Linked DNA regions of Homo sapiens: regions 2, 3, 4, 5, 6 and 7 are each linked to region 1. Evidence: promoter capture Hi-C in human tissues and cell types (Jung and others, 2019). All regions are on one chromosome and are shown on one strand. The core of a region is centred on a gene start or on the middle of the fragment in contact, and the rest is flanking DNA. Distances in the headings are between cores, read along the strand shown. Region 1 holds the start of ZNF732 (zinc finger protein 732). Region 2 holds the start of ZNF721 (zinc finger protein 721). Region 3 has its middle 19 kb from the start of ZNF718. Region 4 overlaps ZNF595 (zinc finger protein 595). Region 5 overlaps ZNF595 (zinc finger protein 595). Region 6 overlaps ZNF718 (zinc finger protein 718). Region 7 overlaps ZNF721 (zinc finger protein 721).

The links. The method cuts DNA at HindIII sites, captures the fragments that hold promoters and counts their contacts. A contact is called where the count stands out against the background at its distance.
Region 2: a contact is called between the fragment with the promoter of ZNF721 here and the fragment with the promoter of ZNF732 in region 1, in 1 of the 25 tissues and cell types used here (spleen).
Region 3: a fragment that was not itself captured here is called in contact with the fragment with the promoter of ZNF732 in region 1 in 2 of the 25 tissues and cell types used here (dorsolateral prefrontal cortex and spleen).
Region 4: a contact is called between a fragment that was not itself captured here and the fragment with the promoter of ZNF732 in region 1, in 3 of the 25 tissues and cell types used here (IMR-90 fibroblasts, lymphoblastoid cells and mesendoderm cells).
Region 5: a contact is called between a fragment that was not itself captured here and the fragment with the promoter of ZNF732 in region 1, in 4 of the 25 tissues and cell types used here (H1 embryonic stem cells, dorsolateral prefrontal cortex, mesenchymal stem cells and 1 more).
Region 6: a fragment that was not itself captured here is called in contact with the fragment with the promoter of ZNF732 in region 1 in 7 of the 25 tissues and cell types used here (dorsolateral prefrontal cortex, heart left ventricle, liver and 4 more).
Region 7: a fragment that was not itself captured here is called in contact with the fragment with the promoter of ZNF732 in region 1 in 1 of the 25 tissues and cell types used here (lymphoblastoid cells).

Annotation. Positions count from the first base shown.
Region 1 is chr4:304,130-306,928 of GRCh38, reverse strand. It overlaps ZNF732 (zinc finger protein 732), which reads left to right and starts at 1,455. Exons shown (of 4, transcript NM_001137608.3): 1 at 1,455-1,621. The coding sequence starts at 1,619. The HindIII fragment of the contact is 17,523 bases long and covers 1-2,799 here.
Region 2 is chr4:497,403-500,564 of GRCh38, reverse strand. ZNF721 (zinc finger protein 721) reads left to right here and starts at 1,409. Exons shown (of 3, transcript NM_133474.4): 1 at 1,409-1,509. PIGG (phosphatidylinositol glycan anchor biosynthesis class G (EMM blood group)) reads right to left here and starts at 1,355. Exons shown (of 13, transcript NM_001127178.3): 1 at 1,076-1,355; 2 at 1-169. The coding sequence starts at 1,229. RefSeq lists enhancers at 394-1,257, 1,215-1,694, 1,258-2,123. The HindIII fragment of the contact is 23,753 bases long and covers 1-3,162 here.
Region 3 is chr4:103,748-106,653 of GRCh38, reverse strand. It overlaps the pseudogene WEE1P1. Among named protein-coding and RNA genes, the nearest start is that of ZNF718, 19 kb to the left of the region's middle. The HindIII fragment of the contact is 6,771 bases long and covers 1-2,906 here.
Region 4 is chr4:82,510-85,675 of GRCh38, reverse strand. All of the region lies in intron 3 of ZNF595 (zinc finger protein 595), which reads right to left. Among named protein-coding and RNA genes, the nearest start is that of ZNF595, 31 kb to the right of the region's middle. The HindIII fragment of the contact is 3,659 bases long and covers 1-3,166 here.
Region 5 is chr4:61,059-64,231 of GRCh38, reverse strand. All of the region lies in intron 3 of ZNF595 (zinc finger protein 595), which reads right to left. Among named protein-coding and RNA genes, the nearest start is that of ZNF595, 9.3 kb to the right of the region's middle. The HindIII fragment of the contact is 3,988 bases long and covers 1-3,173 here.
Region 6 is chr4:141,859-145,018 of GRCh38, reverse strand. All of the region lies in intron 3 of ZNF718 (zinc finger protein 718), which reads right to left. Among named protein-coding and RNA genes, the nearest start is that of ZNF718, 19 kb to the right of the region's middle. The HindIII fragment of the contact is 4,248 bases long and covers 1-3,160 here.
Region 7 is chr4:465,923-469,042 of GRCh38, reverse strand. All of the region lies in intron 2 of ZNF721 (zinc finger protein 721), which reads left to right. It also overlaps the pseudogene ABCA11P. Among named protein-coding and RNA genes, the nearest start is that of ZNF721, 32 kb to the left of the region's middle. The HindIII fragment of the contact is 4,523 bases long and covers 1-3,120 here.

The DNA.
Region 1 (2,799 bases), core at 206-2,705:
TGGAGAGGAAAAACACCCATGGGACCGCACATGCACCACCCTTGTAGCTAGTGGGAAGAAATGTGGTTAAGAACTTCCTCTTATGCCAGGATGTTGATCAGAAGGGACTGTCCCCACTTAGGCCCAGGTGTAATAAATCAACCTAAATGTCATTAACTTGACCCAGCTCCTTATAATGTTACCTAACATGACATAAGTATTTTGGTTTTAGCTTCACCCTTTCCACCTGCTGTGGGTTTCGCTTGGGCACTCATGGGTAATAACCAAGACGGAGTCACTGTGGTCAATCCCAGGCATGCTCAGATGCAACACTGTTATAGGGGAACTTTACCCCTCCCATTTGGGCAGAGCCCACAGAAGACTTCCTTGTTCTTGCCATATAAACTCAGCCCCATTTCTGGCACCCTGCTTTCATGTCCCCTCTTACTGCTGAGAGCTTTCCCTATGCTTAATAAATCCTATTCTGCTTTACTCACTCTCTGGTGTCTGTATGTCTTATTCTTCCTGGTCATGGGAAGAGAGCCCAGACGTGGTTGAACTGAGGAGACCACCACACTGGTACCAAACAGCAAGGGGGAGACAGTGATCTTCACGTGGACACTCTCAGCTTGCAGCCCCTGCTCTCTCTAGGGGCACTGTCCTACCCATCCTTCATCCTGAGGAGAAAAGTTGGTAGAGAGGCTGGTCCCTTACTTCCAGTAGAAAAGACGTGTTCAGGCCCTCACTTTCTTGAGGTCAGAGCCCTCATGGCTGTACTCGATGTGGCAGCCACCAGACATATGTAGCTACTGAGTACCTGGAATGTGGCTGGTTTGAGGTAAAATGTGCTGCAAACATAAAATACACAGTGAGTTTAGACGAATTAAATCAGAAATATACTTTATTTCTAATTATATATTGATCACATATTGAAACAATATTTTGGATACAATAGGTTAAAATATAAACAATTTCACTTGTTTCTTTTTATTATTTTTGATGTGGCTAATAAAAAATTGAAAATTCACAAATAGCTAACATTTTATTTTTTAAAGGATTGCTTCCCCCTTAAAATCCTACTCAAAAGACCAGAGGACAGAGAGGTTATGAAATCTAAAATATTAAAATAATTGTCATTATATTGTTTCCATTTGTGAACAAGTGTGTGTCTGTGTGTGTGCGCGCGCGTACGTACACAATTTATAAATGGGCGTAACCTTACACACCAGAAGGTTAAAAATGAACCCCCAACAGAGCCAAGCCTAGCACAGAAAGCCCTGACTGAAAATACCTGGAGGCACGAGTCTGTCTCTCTTGCCTCATTAAGTGCACTGTGTGGTGGCAAGTTCTGTCACTCAAATTCTGAGCGTGGGGAGCTTGGTATCTTATCCAATCAGAGCGCTGGATTGAGAACTGCCCAATCAGGCGCGCAGCCGGAGAGGAGGGGGCGGCATCCGGGATCTGGCGCGGCTTTTGCCTTTTGCGCCAGCGTGAGCTCGGTTAGGGTCTCCACGGCCGTGCTTTCACCCCTCAGGGAGGCGTCGGTGATTCGGTCACAGCCTCAGCCTCCGTCGCTCTGTGACCTGCGGGTATTGGATGATTCGTAGCTGAGACTCCGCTACACCCCTGAAGTGGGGAAATGGTGAGTGTGGGGGCAGGGCGTCCCAAGGCTGGGGAGGCCTCATCCGAACCGGCGGGAAATGGCGGCGGCGGGACGGAGTCTGCGAACGGAGTCTCCGCTGCCGCCGCTCAGCCCTCAGTCCTTGGTCCCTTCCGGTGAGGGACCCGGGTTCATGTCGGTCCCCGCAAGGCGGCTTTGGCCCAGCCTGCAGCCCTACTTGTGCAGCTCTGCGCCCGCAGCCCCGCACCTTCCCTGGGCTGTGGGGTGAGGAGGAGCTCATCGGGAAAACGCCTGCGTGGCGTGCGAGGTGCCCGCCTGGGAGGAGCTGTGGTCCGGTCGTCGAGTCCCTACTTTACCCTGTTCGGAATAAGATCGAGGCCCTATCAAAACATAGAGTTCATGTGAGCAAATGGGGACTAATTAATGGGACAGCCCCGGGCATGGCTTGTGGTTTGGGGGCTGCCAGCGGGTCTTGAAGGAAAAGCTTTTGTGAGGTGTGTGAGGAAGCGAAGCAAATCACCCGCCCGCTCCAACTTGCCCACCAGTCCCCTTGCCCTGTGCGCCTCCTCCGCGTGGCTGTTCCTGAGTGGCATCTTTTAGAATACGCTGGTGTGGGCGCGCACAGCGCTTCGCTGAGTTCTGTGAGTAGTTCTGCCACATTATTGAACTTGAGGAGGGTGTGGGCGCCCCTGGTTTGTAGGCAGGCGTTCAGAAATGAAGACGGGTGTCCAGAGGCAGGGACTGCCGTCTGCAGGGGGGGGGCAGCTGCGGGAAGAGCGCTGAGCTTGTGGGGTCTTCGCTGACTCTGGGTGGTGTCGTTAGTGAGTTGCTGGACACCGCGTTGGGGTTGGAGCATTGACTGATGTTGAGCAAACTCCGCACGTTTTCTGTCAGAAGAAAGACATGGCTGAGCCTGGGCTGGAGAAAGATGCCTGGTGTCTGCGGGAGGCGCGGCCGGGTTCTGCACATGTGCTGTCCCGCTGGGCACTGTCCTTTTCCTCCAGGTCTCCTTCCGGGGAGAGAAGGGACTGGGAACTTAGAGGAAAGGAGTTCTGAGAAACATCCCTTCCCTGCACCCTGCTGCCAGCCCCCACTTAATGCTAACCCACTCCCGAGGACGCTCACTGGCCATTCGCATTGCCACACTCCTCCCAGGACAGGGTTCTACCCTCAGGAATTGTGCCCGTGACAGCTTTGCT
Region 2 (3,162 bases), core at 160-2,659, 190 kb before region 1:
TCAGCCACAAAACTGTGAGATGCTCCTTTTTCCACAAGGTAAGTTGTGTAGGGCATAAATTTCACACCCTTTGACCCAAACACAAAATCATCTCTCAAGGCATCTATCAGAACAATAACAACTTTACTGAAGAGAGGTGGTGGCAGCGTGGTCCAGTTAGAACTGGCTCCTAAGTGTTTGAAAGAAAAAAAAGGAAATTGAACTCTAAACTTTCCTTAGCATCAAGCACCTTCACAATCTAGCTTCTACCTACTTCTCCAGCACATACCCTGCGATATCTACATAACCCAACCCAAAAGGAGGCGACTTGTACTTGGTAGGTAGTGCTGGGGGGAAAGGACGGGGGTTAACAGGAGTAATCTTAGGGACCCACAGTAGCAAGCAGTGAATTATCCTCAGTATGGTGAAGAGTACTGGGGTAGGAGAATCCCTACGTAAGGGTCCTGGAATGGGACATTTAGGGAGCTTGACCTAAAACGCAGAGCTGCAGCTACGGGATGGCTGGGCGTTTACATACTGCGTTTACATGGTCAGCGGCTGGCGATGTGTGCAAGTGGTCCAGAACCAGGGCGCCTTTACTTGCTGTATATGGCTGGGTAGGTGAAGCCTAGGAAGAGGCCTAACGCAGAGAGGCCTTAGCCCCTAGGCAGGGAAAACATCTTGGAGGAATATAAGAGACCAAAACGCGAGGGGATCGGCAGGGGTCTTATCTGTTGTGTGCTAGGGGGCAAAAAGGGCGCCTATAACGGGGAGTGACCCAAAGGCTGCTCAGGAAAGGGGCGGGAGCTCTGGACGAGTAGAAGTGGAGAGGCTGGATCCCAGGTATGGACACAGCTTACTTTGTGGTGATCAGGAAGGAAGGTCGAAGTGGGGCCAGTAGAGGTGGTTGCCACAAAGTTGTAAGAATACAGAAAAGAGACGCTGGAGCGGTTAAAAAAAATTTCTGAGGTGGGGACCATAATGGAAGAGACCACCGGGGAGCGCCGAGAAGAAATCCGAGCAGCGAGGCTCAGAAAAAAGGTCTTCTAGGGGATGTGGGGTCAGGGGAGCGGAGACGCCGGGGAGGGGTCCGTACCAGCCGAGGGTTCGGGCGCTGGGGGCTCCGCTCCGTGTTCCGCTCTGGCAGAGGAACGAACGGGAGCCGGGAAGAATCCCCGAAGGAAGACCGCGATCCCTAGCACCTCGATCGCTACGCAACAGGTAGCGAAAGTCCCGGAGCCCAGCCGCATCGTGGACACGCTAGGCTGGATGCGGAACCGACCCCACCTGGAGCCTCGCCCTGCTGCAGCCGCGCTTCCGGCTCCAGGTAGCCGCCTCTAAGCAATAACGCCAGGCCTTATCGTCGCAGCGACAGTGGCGTCACGTCCGCCGGCGCGCCACAGCAGCGCGTCACTTCCGCCAGCCCGCCACAGCGGGGCGTCACCTCGGACATACGAACAGCGGGCGGTGTTCCCGGCTCCGTGGGGCCGTCTTCCCGGCGAGTCCGCGACGGTCGCCGCCCACGGCGAGGTACGAGGTTTTAAAAAGTTTTTAATTTGGAAGGCAGGGTGCAGTGGCTCACGCCTTTAATCCCAGTACTTTGGGAGGCCGAGGCGGGCGGATCACGAGGTCAGGAGATCGAGACTATCCTGGCCAACATGGTGAAACCCCGTCTCAACTAAAAATACAAAAAATTAGCGGGGCGTGATGGCGGGTGCCTGTCGTCCCAGCTACTCGGGAGGCCGAGGCAGGAGAATCGCTTGAACCTGGGAGGCGGAGGTTGCAGTGAGCCGAGATCGCGCCACTGCACTTCTGCCTGGCAACAGAGCGAGACTGCGTCTCAAAAAAAAAAAAAAAAAGAAAATTCAACCCAATACCTCAGACAACTGGTAAATATCTTAATGATTAACTTCGTTTTAAAGATGCCACATGAGTGAGATCATGAGGTATTTGTCTTTCTGTGTCTTATTTTGCTTACATGATATCCTCAGGTTTATCCGTGTTGTGGCAAATGATAGGGTTTCATTCTTTTATTAGAGCTGAATAGTACTCCATTGTGTATATATACCACATTTTCTTTTTTCTGAAAGGAAAATCTTGGGGCCCCAAAATTACTAAACTAAGGGAAAAGACAAGCTCGGAACTGCTCAGGACAAACCTGCCTCCCATTCTATTCAAAGTCATTCCTCTGCTCACTGAGATAAATGCATATTGATAGCCTCCTTTGGAGAGGCTTATCAGAAACCCAGAAACTGCAACCATTTGTCTGTCACCTACCTGTGACCTGGAAGCCCCCTCCCTGTTCCAAGTTGCCCCCGCCTTTCTGGACAGAACCAATGTCCTTCTTTTTTTTTTTTTTTTTTTTTTTTTCTTTTTCTTTTCAGATGAAATCTCACTCTGTCGCCCAGGCTGGAATGCAGTGGCGTGATCTCAGATCACTGCAACCTCTGCCTCCCGGGTTCAAGCAATTCTCCTGCCTCAGCCTCCTGAGTAGCTGGGATTACAGGTGCGTGCCACCACGCACGGCTAATTTTTGTATTTTTAGTTGAGACGGGGTTTCACCATGTTGGTCAGGCTGTTCTTGAACTCCTGACCTCGTGATCCGCCCGCCTCGGCCTCCCAGAGTGCTGGGATTTACAGGCATGAGCCACCGCGCCCGGCCTGTTTTTTTTTTGTTGGTTTGTTTTTGAGACGGAGTCTCGCTCTGTCGCCCAGCCTGGAGTGCAGTGGCACCATCTCCGCTCACTGCAAGCTCCGCCTCCCGGGTTCACGCCATTTTCCTACCGCAGCCTCCCGTGTAGCTGGGACTACAGGCGCCCGCCGCCACGCCCGTCAAATTTTTTTTTTTTTTTTGTATTTTTTAGTAGTGACGGGTTTCACCATGTTAGCCAGGATGGTCTCAATCTCCTGACCTCGTGATCCGCCCGCCTCTGTCTCCCAAAGAGCTGGGATTACAGGCGTGAGACACCGCGCCCTGTCCGGCCTGTTATTATACATATGATTGATATCTCGTGACTCCCTAAAATGAATACAACCAAGCTGTGCCCCGACCACCTTGGACCCACGTCGTCAGGATCTCCGGAGGCTGTGTCATGGGCGTCCTTAACTTTGGGAAATAAGCCTCCTGAAATGATTAAGACTTGTCATTTTTCTCGATTGACATTGATAAGCACTGAGAGATCC
Region 3 (2,906 bases), core at 100-2,599, 200 kb after region 1:
GTTGGCCGGGGCTCGAGGTATATTCATTCAATGTCTTTAATTCACAGGGATAAGGAACCTTGTCTCAAACCTCAATCCCCAGTGCTGCCTCTGAAGAAGGAGATGAAGATGACTGGGCATCCAACAAAGTTACCTGTAAAATTCGTGATTGTGGGTATGTAACAAGGATCTCTAACCCACAAGTTGAAGAGACTGATAGTCTTTTTTTTTTTTTGCAAGTGAAGTTTTACAGGAGAATTATACCATCTACCAAAAGCAGATATCTTGCACTTCCCCTCACAGTGGTCTGTGCTGCTGGTCTGTGCTCTTCCCAGGAATGGAGACCAATGGCATGGAATCAGAGAGAATAGATTACCTCAGATACCACAAGTGCTTTCCCAAGAATTTTCAGAGTTGCTAAAAGTTATGATTCATTCATATCCAGAGAGAAGACCCTCAGCAATGGCCCTCTAAAGCATTCACTGCTGCTGTCTGCTTCTAGGAAGAGTAGAGAACCACTGTGTATAGGATTGAATGTTGAAACTTTCAAAAATACACTTTTACAAAAAGAACTCACGAGGGCATAGATGGTAAAGGCTGCAGCTGAGGAAGGAGCACTCTTCACTGATCAGAGGCCACTAGGTCCACCACGCATAGGAACACAACATCTTGGCTTATTAGAAAGAAAATGAAGTGCTCTGTCAGCCTTCTAGTAAACTACTCATTTCCCACCTACTCATCCCGCAAAAAACACTATGAAAAAAGCAAGCTAGGTCGAAATCACTGCTAGAATCCAATTTGCAATTACTCTCTCTATTGGTGTCAGTGGTTTTACTGATTAGGACTTTTATTTGTGAATTACAATTGAAAACTGTATTTTGACCATAGCTTTTTCAGGCTTTTATATAGTCTTACCAGTCTGTCTTCTGTAAAATGTCAGTCACTGGCGGATGTTAACGCAGTCTTTGCAAAATTAACCGCTGTGGTGGTGTGTTGCTCTCAGTGTGCTGTTGTCCTGTAATGAAGGTATCTTTTCCCGCGGTGGCCTGAAGAAAGGATTCAAGGGCTTGATCACAAACATATTCTCTCAATAAGGCAAATGCTAAAACCGCCCATTACTACTCAGCCTTCAATGCACCTGTGTATGAAATTTCTCTCTCTCTCTCTCTCTATATATATATGTTTTAAGTGAATTATACTTGTATATCCAACTGGGAGCACTTTGTAGCCTTAGCATGAGACATGGGATGATAATTCTGTGGAAGTATTGCCTTATAAATTTGCTATTTCAGTTTTGTCTCTGCTGTAAACTTTTAGCATTAAACAATTACTGTTGTTAATAGGCTTTCTTTTTGAAACAAATATGTAAAGTGTACAGCTGGTCTTGATGAAAAGCAGCTATTGGCCTTTTTTTTTTCTTTGAACTTTAAAGCTTTGGAATTTTGTATTAATCCAGTATAATAATTACTGAGTTTTGTAATTTTGTTCTGGTAATGAACTTCCCTGACTCTTAAAAAAATACCTCCTTCCCAATTTTGTATTTGATCATATTGTTAGTCTGTTGTTCAATGTTTTGTCTGGTTTCTCTCAAGTGTATGTGTATATAAACTTATCTTGGTGATCCTCTACACAGCTGTTTGTAATGCCAGAATTACTTCTGACATTCCAAGTTTTTTACAAAATAGATTTTTTTCTGTGATTAGCCGTTTGACTACTAATACTGGCTAATGTATTTTGCAAAAAAAAAAAAAAAAAAAGAATTTGTCCATGGCTTTCTCACTGATTTTGTTGTAAAATATGTTTGTATTTGTCTTTGACTTGTGTTTCATTAATATTGACTGGCAATATTAAAAGTCACCCTGAGTTTAACTTAATTGTCTAGAAAAAAAAAAGAAAAAGGGTTTATGGGTTGGACTACCAGGCAGAAGGCCTGGTGTGAGCACAGGTGTAGGTTTAGGGAACAAGCACAGCCATGCTGAGGAGGAGAGAGAAGGTGATGACCAAACACAGGAAAATCCAAAAACCCAGAAAGTCAAGGAGCCAAATGAAAGCCTTTTATCCTGCATCAACCATTTAACCTCATAAACACTGCAAGTGAACATGGTCTTTTAGAGATATTGATAGTTCTTATTTTCTTGTAATCCTGTAAAGGAAATGGATTTTTGACATCAGACTGTCCCCAGGAAATTTTTTCACCAGCCTGTCCCCAGGAATTAATAACAATTAAAATTATAATTTTAATAAATTAAAATTTATCCAAAATTAGAATATTATTTTTAGGAAGGCATCCTTCTGGATTAGGCTGCTAGGAAATTGAGTTAGTTGCTGTCAGTCATTCACACCCTGCACAGACATTAATTTACCAGAGCCTTGGTATGGAATGGGAGGAGATTATTATAAGCAGGACTGGCTGGTGGCCAGAGTGTGAAGGGGACAGAAAAAACACAGGGAGGCTAAACCTGGAGACAGCTCCAAACCCAGAAGACACTGTTATTATGCTTATTTTACAGAGGAGGAAACTAAAGCACAGGCAGGTCAAGACCATGCTGCCCCAGAGTCGAGGAGCCAGGATCTAAACCCAGCCAGCTTGCCTTGCCATCAGAGCTCACACACATAGTTTGTTCTGTAGTTATGCAGGATTGCACTGTGGCTAAGTACACAGACTCTGGGTTCACATCCCAGCTGCTCTGCTATTTCCAGGTTTGTGACCATGGGCAAGTTACTTGCCTGTGCTCAGTGTCTCCTGTAAAGTGAAGATAGCAGTACCTGCCTCATGGAGTCCCTTAAATGAGTTAATAGTGTAACATGTTATGGTGGCATGCACACAGTCACCATCTAGTAAGTATAGTCTATTATGCCTGAACCCCAGATGGGCACATGTCCTTGAAAAGTCTAAAATTCAGAACTCTGAAATCCAGCCTCTGAGA
Region 4 (3,166 bases), core at 89-2,588, 220 kb after region 1:
TTTACGAATGTAATATCGAAAATGTATACAAACTGCATTAGTAAGATAGCATAACAAAATATCACAGGCCATAATTTCTTCACAGACATGTAACAAAGATATACAAACCAAAATACCTTTGTGCAAAATCTGTAAATGAGTTAACTGTATGCAACGCCTCAGGTAAGTACAATACTAAGAACCACATGGAACAGGAAGGAAAGTTTGTTATATTTACCCACCACAGCTTTCCTCCTCCCCAATATAGCATTGTGCCTATAGGAGTAAACTGTCAACTCCTGGCTTCTTACTTAGAAGAAAAATACTGATACACATATCCTTACTTCTGGCTTTCTGGGGTCTTTACAAAATCTGGTTTCTGTCTCCAACAACACAGAGAGCTGAGAGAAACGGTGCTATACTTTGGAAGAACAGCTTGGGTCTGCTAAGACCAAACGTAAATGTTTCAGGAGCAGGCTGCAGTGTTAAATACAGGGAATAGGTAGAAGAGTGACTAGAGACCATAAGAAGAAACATGAATAATCCCTTTTCACTGAAAAACAAACACAAAATTCCAGACAAGACACATCCTTAGAACATGTATGAGAGGCTCCCATTATCTCTATCAAAGACAACAGGTTTCAGACTATGTCAGGACAAGGCAACACTGTAAAGATTGTGACAAATACCTTTTTGTTAATGTTCAAATAACAAACAGATGTTACAATATATACAAAATATTAGGGCAACATGGCCCAATTAAAAAATTTAAAACTTTTCAGAAAACAACCATAAGAAATGAAGATGTAGAAATTTTAAAAAATTAACCTGAAAAATCCTCAATGAGCTAAAGGGGAACACATACAACTAAATATAATAAGACAAATGAGGTATCGATGAAAACGTTAAAATATAAAAAACAAATTGTGGATGTGAAAAATACAAAAGTAATGAGTGAGAAAGTTCCAAAAGTAAAATAAGGATGTAAAAAATGAAGAAGCTCAACAAACTTCAACTAGGATACATACACAGAGATTTATATAAGCAAAGTTTCAAAAGTCAAAGACAGAGAATCTTAGGAGTTGCAAGATAAAAGTGATGTGTCATTTATAAGTGTGGTCTTACATAACCAGTGAATCTGTCAACAAAATTTTTTTAGACAAGAGGGAATTGTGATATAGTTAAAATGCTGAAAGAAAGCTTGTAAGCAGGAATACCATAACATGCAAAACTGTCCTAAAAATGAAGAAAAAGTAAAGCTCTTTCAAGATAACCAAATGTTGAAAAAGTGTATTAGCACAACACCTGCCTTAGAAAAGAAATGCTGAAGAAAGTATCTTCCACTGAAAATAATATGATGCAAGAAAACAAAACATAATCATATGAAAATAAGTAACTTTTTGGGAAAGACATGAACATATACAAATGTAAGGTTCTGTACCATTATCATGATAGTGCAGAAAACATTTTAATTATTCTCTAAAATTTTAAAGAGCATAAAAATGATCATAAACTGTTCATCATAATCTGTTAATAAATAAGCAACATAAAAATATAATTAGTGACATTAATAACAAAGTTGAGGGCAGATGTAATGAGGAAGAATTTTCAAACGCAACTGAAATAACCAGTTTAAAATGTATTATTTTAAGAAATTTTATGTAATTTCCAAAATACCAAAAAGTAAGTATCTGTATGGATACATGAAAAAATAAGTAAAAATCTATCAACACAAAAGTCAAAAGGAAGACAGAAAAGAAAATAAGGGACAAAAATACAATAATCAAGTAAAACAATTAATAAAATAACATGAATAAAATAAGAAGTAAAAATCTATCCACACAAAAGTCAAAAGGAAGACAGAAAAGAAAATAAGGGACAAAAATACAATAATCAAGTAAAACAATTAATAAAATAACATGAATAAGCCTTTCCATTTCAGCAAATTATTTAAATATTTATGAAGTAATCTTTGCATTGGAAATACATGCAAATAAATTTATTTAAGAAATCAAAAAACAAGATACAACTTGTTTTTCTTTCTTTCTTTCTTTTTTTTTTTTTTTTTTTTTTTTTTGAGACGGAGTCTCACTCTGTCACCCAGGCTGGAGTGCAGTGGCGTGATCTCGGCTCACTGCAAGCTCTGCCTCCTGGGTTCACACCATTCTTCCACCTTGGCCTCCTGAGTAGCTGGGACTACAGGTACCCGCCACCACGCCCGGCTAATTTTGTTTTTGTATTTTTAGTAGAGACGGGGTTTCACCATGTTAGCCAGTGATCTCAATCTCCTGACCTCGTGACCACCCACCTCGGCCTTCCAAAGTGCTGGGATTACAGGCGTGAGCCACTACACCCAGCCACAACTTGCTTTTTCACAAGAGTCACTTGAGATCTAATGATTAAAGGAGACTGAAAAAGGCAAGATGAAAGAAAAAACTTTATGCAAAGAACCAAACAGAAGAGGTCAAAATTATATTACCCAAAGTACATCTAAAGTCAAAAACTCCCATTTCATAAAACTTATTTTAACTAAAAGCTCATAAGAGACAAAGAAGAACATAAACTATATTAAAAATGTTCATTTACTAGGAAACCCTGAAAAATGTGTGTATATACATATATTTGTGTGTGTGTGTGTATGTGTGTCTTACATTAGGGTTCCAAATATATAAAGCAAATACTGACAGAAGTAAAGCAAGACATAGAGAGCAATATAATTATAGTAGGATATTTCAATAGCTCAATTTCTGTAATGAATAATCAGAAAAGAATACTCAAGGAAATAGAAGACTTCAAAGCAGTATAAAACAATTATGTCTAATAGAATTGTAGAGAACTCTTAAACAAAAGCAGAATACATACCCATCTGAATAGCTCATAAAATATTCTCCTTGATAGACCACCTGTTAGGCTACAAAAAAGTCTTAACAAATTTTTTAAAATAGGAACTTTACAGATTACTTTTAATGACCAAACTGGAATGAGAATAGAAATTAATTAAAAAAAGAAAACTGGCTGGGTGCAGTGGCTCATGCCTGTAATCCAAGCACTTTGGGAGGCCAAGGCAAGCAGATCACTTGAGGTCATTAGTTCGAGACCAGCCTGACCAACATGGAGAAACCCCATCTCTACCAAAATTACAAAATTAGCCAGGTGTGGTGGTGCATGCCTGTAATCCCAGCTACTC
Region 5 (3,173 bases), core at 35-2,534, 240 kb after region 1:
CTCAAACAAACAAAAAAACCCCACAAGTATTTTTATGTTGGTCATGTATCCTGATACCTTAATGAATGCATTTATTAGTTCAGTTTTTGTTGTTTCACTCTAGGGTTTTGTATATACGCATAATTATATTATCTACAAACAGTAACATTTTTACTTTTATTCCAAGCTGGAAAGCTTTGTTATTTTCCTTGTCTAATTGTTCTGATACAAACTTTCAGTAATATGTTAAGGTAGAAGCTGTGGCCCTGGAGGCATGCTTGTGGATCTTGGCCTCAGCTTTGGTCCCTGAAACAGCCCCATGTCTGTATATTTGAAGGATCTAACAACTCTTAACAGTTTCTATAAACTATGGCAAAACCCCATCTCCACTAAAAAAAACTATCTTTGGCAAGTAAAGATCTCCTTTTATTGGGTCCCCAGGCTGATAAGATTACCTCTGGGGTTGCTGAGAAGAAAGGTCATAGCTGGGTCACAAGGGTGCTGCTGGGTCACAAAACCCCATCTCCACTAAAAATACAAAAAAATTAGCCAGGCATGGTGGTGCGCGCCTGTAATCCCAGCTACTCGGGAGGCTGAGGCAGGAGAATCGCTTGAACCTGAGAGGCGGGGGTTGCAGTGAGCTGAGATTGTGCCACTGTACTTCAGCCTAGGGAACAGAGTGAGACTCTGTCTCATAAAATAAGTACATAAATAAAATAAATTTTAAAATGTAAAGGATGAGATAAAAATGTATACACTAACACAGTTAAGATATTGATGACAGAAATTGAAGTAGGTAAAAATAAATGAAAACATATTCCATTAGGATAACTAATATTGTCAAGGAATATTATCCAAAGTGATATGGAGATTCAATGTCATCCCTATCAAAATTTGAGTGGCATTTTTCACAGTAATAGAAAACACAATTGTAAAATTTAAGTGTTATCTTAAATAACTTAAAATAACCTGAGCAATCTTGAGAAAGAACAAAGCTGGGGACATCATACTTTCTAATTTCAAACTTTACTTAAAGGTCATGGTAATCAAAAGAGTATAGTATATTCATAAAAACAGATACAAAAACCAATGCAACAGAATAGGGAGCCCAGAAACATATCCATGCATACAAGGTCAACTAATCTTTGACAAGGCCACCAATAATATACAATGCAGAAAGTATAGTCTTGTCAATACATGGTACCAGAAAAACTGGATATCCACAAGCAAAAGAATAAAATTAGACTATACCATAAATAAAATTTTCTTATACCATACCCCAAAATTAACTCAAAATAAAAGACTTAAATGTAAGACATAAAAGCTTAAAACTCCTGAATAAAACATATGGAAAAACCTTGTTGATATTGGTCTTGGCAATTTGGTATGTCATCAAAAGCACAGCAACAGAAGAAAATACAAAAGAGTGGGACTGCATCAAAGTGTACAGCTTCTGTACAGTAAAGGAAAAAACCAAAATTTTAAAAAATCCTACACAATAGAAAAATATTTGCAAGCCATATATCTGATAGTTAATATCCAAAATGTGTAAGAAACTTCTGCAATTCAAAGCAAAACAATAATGATGATAACCTATTCAAAAATAGGCAAAAGGTTAGTTTTGTTTTTCCCACAAAGAAGACATACATACAAGGGAAATCCTGTATGCCACTAGTGAGATATAAATTGATAAAGTCATCATACAAATCAGTAAAAAATAAAAATGAAAGCATCACATAATTCAGCAATACCACCTCTGGGAATACTACCAAAGGAAATAAAATTAGTACCTCAAAGAACAATCTTCAGCCCCATGTTCATTTTAGTTTTGCTTAAAATAGCCAAAAAAATTTATATATATACACACACAGTAGAATACTATTCAGCCATAAAAGAGAAGGAAATCTAGCCATTTACAGCATTGATAGACCTTGAAGACATTACGCTAAGTGAAATAAGCCAAACACAAAGAAACTGCATGTTCTCAGTTAGATGAGGAATCTAAAAATGTAAACTCATAGGAACAGAGAGTAGAATGGTGGTTGTTAGTGCCTGAGGGTGGGAATATGAGGAGATGCTGTTCAAAGAGTACAAATGATTAGTTGTAAGTTGAGTAAGTCTGAGAAAGCTAATGTACATTAGCATTAGATTAGCAAAATAGCATTGTCTTTATAGTAATACTGTAAAGTATGCTTACAATTTGCTACAACAGTAGACCTCAAGTGTTCTTGTGACAAAAAAAAAAATGGTTATCTATGTGAGGTAATAAATGTGTTCATCAACTTGACATTTTGTTTCAAAATGTATATGCATATCAAATCATTACATTGTACAAATTAAATATAGTTATATAATTTTATCAGAAAAATCCGTATCACACAAACACAGATGTATGTTAAGTCCTCATTTAATGTTCAAAATAGATTCTTGAAAACTGCATCTTTAAATGAAACAATGTTGTTACATGCCATTCAAACATAACTTGTTTTTATTTATTAAACTCTGGTAAAATTAGTTTTCTTAAACAATATGTTGCTTTACTTACAGTTTCCAAGAACCTATCAATGATGTTAAGCGAGAATTTCCTATACACATATATGACTCATATAGGTATGTGTATGTGTGTGTGACACACAGTTCTACATATAGATGGATTATAGCTCAATGACAGAATCCCAGGAGGCTTCCTACTAAATAAGACAAAATTATAAGATAATAGTTTATCAAGAAATAAGGTAACAATTGAGAGCTTAATATACACTTAGGAATGTTCTAAGCCGGTTAATGACATAGTGCATTTAAGAAATCTAGAAGGCGGGCCAGGCACGGTGGCTCAGGCCTGTAATTCTAGCACTTTGGAAGGCAGAGGTGGGCGGATCACTTGAGGTCAGGAGTTCAAAACCTGCCTGGCCGACATGGTGAAACCCCGTGGCGGGCACCTGTAATCCCAGCTACTCAGGAGGCTGAGGCAGAAGAACCATTTGAACCCGGGAGGTGGAGGCTGCAGGGCAGCAGAGGTTGCAGTGAGCCGAGGTCACGCCACTGCACTCCAGCCTTGGTGACAGAGCAAGACTCCGTCTCAAAAAAAAAAAAAAGAAAAAAAGAAAGAAATCTAGAAGGTGAGTAGATACTTTAAACCAGTGGTATCCAATCCTTTGAGTGTGAGGACGTTTTTGCTTATCTGTGGTGATGGG
Region 6 (3,160 bases), core at 621-3,120, 160 kb after region 1:
AATATTCCATGCCAATAACTAAAAAAGTGTACGAGTGGCTATATCAAACAAAAGAGACATATAGAAAAAAAAAATCTGTCACAAAAAAAACTTTGCATATGATGGGGTCTTATATTTGAAAAAACCTACTTCACTAAAACACCATTAGAACTCATACATTTAGTCAAGATACAGGATTAAAAAATTAGTGTTTCTACATGCCAACAGTGAACAATGTGAAAATCAAACCAAGAGAGTAATTCCATTTACGGTAGCCACAAATTAAAATTAAATACCAGGAATGAACTTAACCAAAGAAGTGAAAGATCTCTATGATGAATACTATAAAACATCGATGCAAGAAATTAAACAAGAGAAAAAAAAGGAAAGATATTTTATGTTCATGAATAGGAAGGATCAGTATTATTAAAATTTTCATACTACCCAAAATGATCTACAGATTTAATGCAATTCCTATCAAAGCATCAATGACATTCTTCACAGAAATAGGAAAAACAATCTTATAATGTAGACAGACCCATAAAAGACTCAAAATAGCCAAAGCCATTGTACCAGAAAAGAAACTGGAGGAATCATAGTATTTGAATTTAAATGATACAACAGAGCTACCGTAATTAAAATGGCATAAAACTGATCAGTAAAACAGTAGAGCGAATGCAGAGATAAATCCATATTACAGCAAACTTCTTTTTGACAAAGCTGTCAGGAATATATTGTTACCGCTAGAAAGTATCCGGGTTCTTGGCATCTTGAACAAAGAATTGGACAAAATACACAAAGCAAGGAAGGAATAAAAGGATTTACTAAAAATGAAAGTACACTCCACAGTGCGGGCCCGAGCATAGGGGCTCGAAGGCCCCCTTACAGAATTTTTGGGAGCTTAAATACCACCTAGAGTATTCCATTGGTTACTTTGGGTATGCCCAACGTAAATGGAGAGGGTGAAGTAAATTTAGTTATTAACGGTGGATGCCCTATGGAGAGGATATTTCCTGTTATAGCTGAAGTGTGAATTGGGCTTATGGTCCCTGCCTCCAGACCGTTTTCCTGCCTCATGTCCCCCGAGAGATGTGATCCCCATAAATCCTTATAGGAGACGGGGGGGTCAACGGTCTTTTTCTTTCTGTAACTGCTTTATGCTGGCTTGGGGCATAGTCCCTGTCTATTGGGGATCACAGTACTCTCGCCCTGTTCTGTCTAGTGGAGGCAGGGTAGTTTCTTGATGGCCAGGGGTGTGTTTTCACCTGGAACTGGCTGGAGATTTCACTGCATGATCAGTGAAGCTTGATGGTCTCTAGGCAAGAGCAAACGTGTTTGGTTAAAAGATATAATGGGGGTGGATACCTATGCTGTTAAGAATGTTTGTTACAGAGATTTGCAGGAGAAAAAAAACCTGATTTGTTCTAGAATTTATGTGTTTCCTTAAAGTCTTGGCACAAGCAACTCCATTTTGTTTTGGTCTGTTGGTGCCTAGTGTATGAGCTTAGTCCAAAACAATGGCATCCCAGAATTTTGTTTAAAAACTTCCCCCTTGGCCGTGCACACTGGCTCACGCCTGTAATCCTAGCACTTTGGGAGGCTAAGGCAGGTGGATCACAAGGTCAGGAGTTCAAGATCAGCCTGGACAAAATGGTGAAACCCCGTCTCTACTAAAAATAGAAAAATTAGCCAGGCGTGGTGGTAGGCACTAATCCCAGCTACTTGGGAGGCTGAGGCAAAGAATTGCTTGAACCTGGGAGGCAGAGGTTGCAGTGAGCCAAGATTACACCACTGCACTCCAGTCTGGGTGACAGAGACTCCGTCTCAAACAAAACAAAACGAAATTCCCCCTTTTTGGTTAGGTTCTCACTTAGATTAGTGTGTGTCCAAAATTTAGGGCCTTAGAGCCACTCTCAGTTACCATCATTTTGGATTTCTGGTCTCAGCACATTATTTATAGGTTACGGTGTTCTCATGGTTGCACGTTTCTTTTAGCTTCTGTTATTCTAGTTGAAGAGAGACCATATGACATCCTAGAGATGGCTGCATGCAAGCATTTAAAACCTTTGAGAGAATACAGCACACAAGGGAGACTATTATTATGACTATTGGGAGGAAAATACCAAGAGTTCACAGTATGCTCCTTACTCAAGGTTTCCATAAACCAAACCTCGTAAAATTAAATAGATCAAAGAATGAGCCAGATAAAGAGTTTACTTACTTAACTAAGCAATTTCTTTGTTAATCCCCTACCACTGAATTTCTATAATCTTCATTTGATGTATTTCTCCATAAGCCACAAGTGCCAGCAGCTGCACAGGTACCTCTTTGTTTAGTCAATTCTATTATAACTTTCACAAAAGAATTTAAAGTCTATTGTGTAACTGTAGCCTTTACAGTAGAATTTGCTATAGAGCCTATCATGAGGGATACCTTTTTAAATCATTGCTTCTTTTACTTTAAACCATGGGAAAGGACCTAACAAATGATGCCCCTCTAGAAGAGTGAAGGCCTCCTGGCAATGGTCTCTTTAGCCCACGGTGTGGGTTAACAGGAGTGAACCAATGTTTTGTTTTTGGACTGATTATGAGGCAATGTATGTACCATTAAAGTTTCTTACTTACACTGACTGGGCTTTCATCTTTTATTTATCTAAGTATAAGCTTATCCATATATAAGGCTGGCTGCAAACTCCTTCACAAATAGAAGTATACTCCATAAATGCACTTAACAGATCCCTTTTCTACTTTTAATGTTTGTAGAAGCATAAGAAAAAAAATTCAAAGGTAAGAGTTTTATGATAGAAGTTTTAATTTGTGAACTTGGGAAAAGCTGTTTACATCAAGGATGCCATCTTCTTGGGAGAAATCTCCCTGGTTAGCTTCACCTCAAGGGTTCCAATGGCTGCACAGTTCCAAAAATGTGGAGGGACCCTTATCAAAACCCGTTAACCTAAAGCCCAAAGTCCTGACATTTTGTTGTAGTGTGGGTGGCAAGGACAGTTTTTCTCCTATGTTCTCAGAAGATTTAAACCATAAAAAGCTTTTTTACCTGCTGGAAATATACTGTAGCATAATAATCTCAGCCTCCTTGCATAGTAAAGCTTTTATACAACAGAAAACATGCATTGAAAATAACAACTGAATGAAATCCCTTTATAAAATGTTTAAATGGCCCACCA
Region 7 (3,120 bases), core at 210-2,709, 160 kb before region 1:
TAGTTCAGTTTTTGTTATTCTACTCTAGGGTTTCATATATATGCATGATCATATTATCTACAAACAGTAACATTTTTTCTTCTTTTGCAGGCAGGAGAGCTTTGTTCTCCTTTTTCTTGCCTAATTGTTCTGATACAAACTTTTGGTAATAATGTTAAGATAGAAGCTGTGGTCCTGGAGGCATGCTTGCAGATCTTGGCTTCAGCTGTGGTCCCTGAAGCAGCCCTGTGTCTGTATATTTTAAGGATTTAACAATGATTACAGTTTGTATAATCTGTTTTTTGACAGGTAAACATCTCCTTTTGTTGGGTCCCCAGGCTGATGAGATTACCTCTGGGGTTGCAGAGAAGAAGGGTTGTAGCTGAGTCTCAAGGGTGCTGCTGGGTCTGCTGTGTGGCCTGCCTTTGAGGGTTGTGTTACCAGAGATTTAGACAGTCACAGATTCTTTCTGGGCCCTGGAAAGATTAGATTTCCTTGAGGACATTAATCTATATGGCAGGCAGTAGGATTGGGTTTTGAAATTTGTCTGCATATGATGGCCCAAATACCAGGTGTATAAATGGGTTTAGCTTTTACTGACTACCTGGGAACAGTTTTTTTTTTTCTTTTTTTTGTGACGGAATCTGGTTCTGTCGCCCAGGCTGGAGTGTAGTGCCATGAACTTGGCTCACTGCAACCTCCGCCTCCCAGGTTCAAGCGATTCTCCTGCCTCAGCCTCCCAACTAGCTGGGAGTACAGGCGCTTCCATCACACCCAGCTAATTTTTTTTTTTTTTTGAGTCGGAGTCTCACTCTGTCACCCAGGCTGGAGTGCAGTGGTGCTATCTCAGCTCACTGCAAGCTCCGCCTGCTGGGTTCATGCCATTCTCCTGCCTCAGCCCCCCAAGTAGCTGGGACTAAAGGCGCCCGTCACCGTGCCAGGCTAATTTTTTGTATTTTTAATAGAGACAGGGTTTCACCGCGGTCTCGATCTCCTGACCTCGTGATCCGCCCGCCTCGGCCTCCCAAAGTGCTGGGATTACAGGTGTGAGCCACCGCACCCGGCACGCTCAGCTAATTTTTTGTATTTTTAGTAGAGACGGGGTTTCACTGTGTTAGCCAGGCTGGTCTTGATCTCCTGACCTCCTGATTTGCCCGCCTCGGCCTCCCAAAGTGCTGGGCTTACAGGCGTGAGCCACCGCGCCCAGCCCCTGGGAACAGTTTTTATAGGTCTCTCTGTGGGCCTCTGAGTGTGTACGAGTGGCCACGGACTGTGACTACAAATGGCTTGAACTGAGTCACAGGGCTGCTTCAAGGAGCACAACTGAGGCCAGGATCTGCAGGCCTGCCTCCAGGGTCATGGCTGGGTGTGTCTTCCTGCAGGTCTCTTGATGGGAAGGACCATTTCTGGACTACAGCTGAGATTGAGAACTGCTTCATAATCCTCAGTAAGACCAAGCTGCATGCACCATTTTCTTGTCTGTAGCCATGTCTATGGGCTCTGGAGTTGGCCACCTGGGTGAGGGCCTGCTTTTTCCAAATAACCCTTCCTTGGTCTTTGACTCCACTGAGGTTTCACAACCCTAACTATAGGCAAGCACCATTCTACTTATGTTTTCTAGGAATTTACTACTTAAAATATCTTATGTAAGTGGAATCATACATTGTCACTTTGTTAGTGTCTTATTAAATAATGGTGTCTAAATAGTGTCTTATTAAAATAATGGCTTTAAGATTTATCCTTATTGTATGATCCGACAAGATATTTTCATTTGATTCTAAAGAATTTTTCATTGTATGTGTAAGCCATGTAAGCCACATCCTTTTTTGTTTGTTTGTTTTTTTTTTGAGATGGAGTCTTGCTCTGTCACCCAGGCTGGAGTGCAGTGGCGCAATCTCGGCTCACTGCAAGCTCCACCTCCTGGTTTCACACCATTCTCCTGCGTCAGCCTCCAGCTGGGACTACAGGTACCTGCCACCACGCCCGGCTAATTTTTTTTTTGTATTTTTAGTAGAGACGGGGTTTCACCGTGTTAGCCAGGATGATCTCTATCTCCTGACCTTGTGATCTGCCTGCCTTGGCCTCCCAAAGTGCTGGGATTACAGGCGTGAGCCACCGCGCCCGGCCAAGCCGCATCCTTTTAAATTATTCATCTGTTGAAGGATGTTTGAGGTTTTTCACTTTTTGGCTTTTGTAAGTAATATGGTTTGGATCTGTGGCGCCATTCAAATCTCACATCAAATTGTAAGCCTGAATGTTGTAGGTGGGGCCTGGTGGGAGGTGACTGGATTATATGGTTGGATTCTCATGAATCATTTAATACCATTGCCTTTGGTACTCTCTTTGCCATAATGAGTGATTTCTCCTGAGATGTCACTTTCTTTCTTTGTTTTTTTGATATCTCATCCATCGCAGTTTAATCTACAAATGAAATTTCTACAGAAACAGGAACTATTTTAAGAAAGAAAAAAATCCCTCATTCAGACTTCTTTGGTAGTGGTAATGGCTGCAAATTTGCAGCATTTAGAAAACTACACTATCAACAAGCTTTCCTTTATGAACTGAGATGTACAAAATGTAGAAAGCAGATGAAAGTGAATTATTTCTTCAACATTTTAGTAAAACTTCTGATAATCAGAGTTCAAAGCACATAACAACTCAAGCATAAATGAAGATGGAGAGCCTGGGGAGTTTGATTTCTTAAATTTTCCAAAAAGGTATTATTGCAAACATATAGGATTTCCCCCCATTTTAACCTTACCAGTTTCAAAGGAAAGTAAAGGTACTGGATTACATGAAGACAGCATGTGTGCGAGTGCACACGCATGCAGGGTGGCAGGTAGAGTGTCTTAATTCCTTTTTCTTACTACCCAAGTCTCACTTCACAGAAATCATTAGGTAAAGGAAAACCAACGAGGAGTTCTGCAGTTTTCTTTTAATAACTGAGGCTGAGGCAGGAGAATCGCTTCAACCCTGGAGGTGGAGGTTGCAGTGAGCCAAGATTGTGCCACTGCATTCCAGCCTGAGCGATAGAGTGAGACTCCACCTCAAAAAAAAAAAAAAAGAAAAGAAAAACGACAACAAAAAAGATAAAAGGCAGAGAAATAACTTATGACTACCATTTTGTTCATTGTTTTCTGA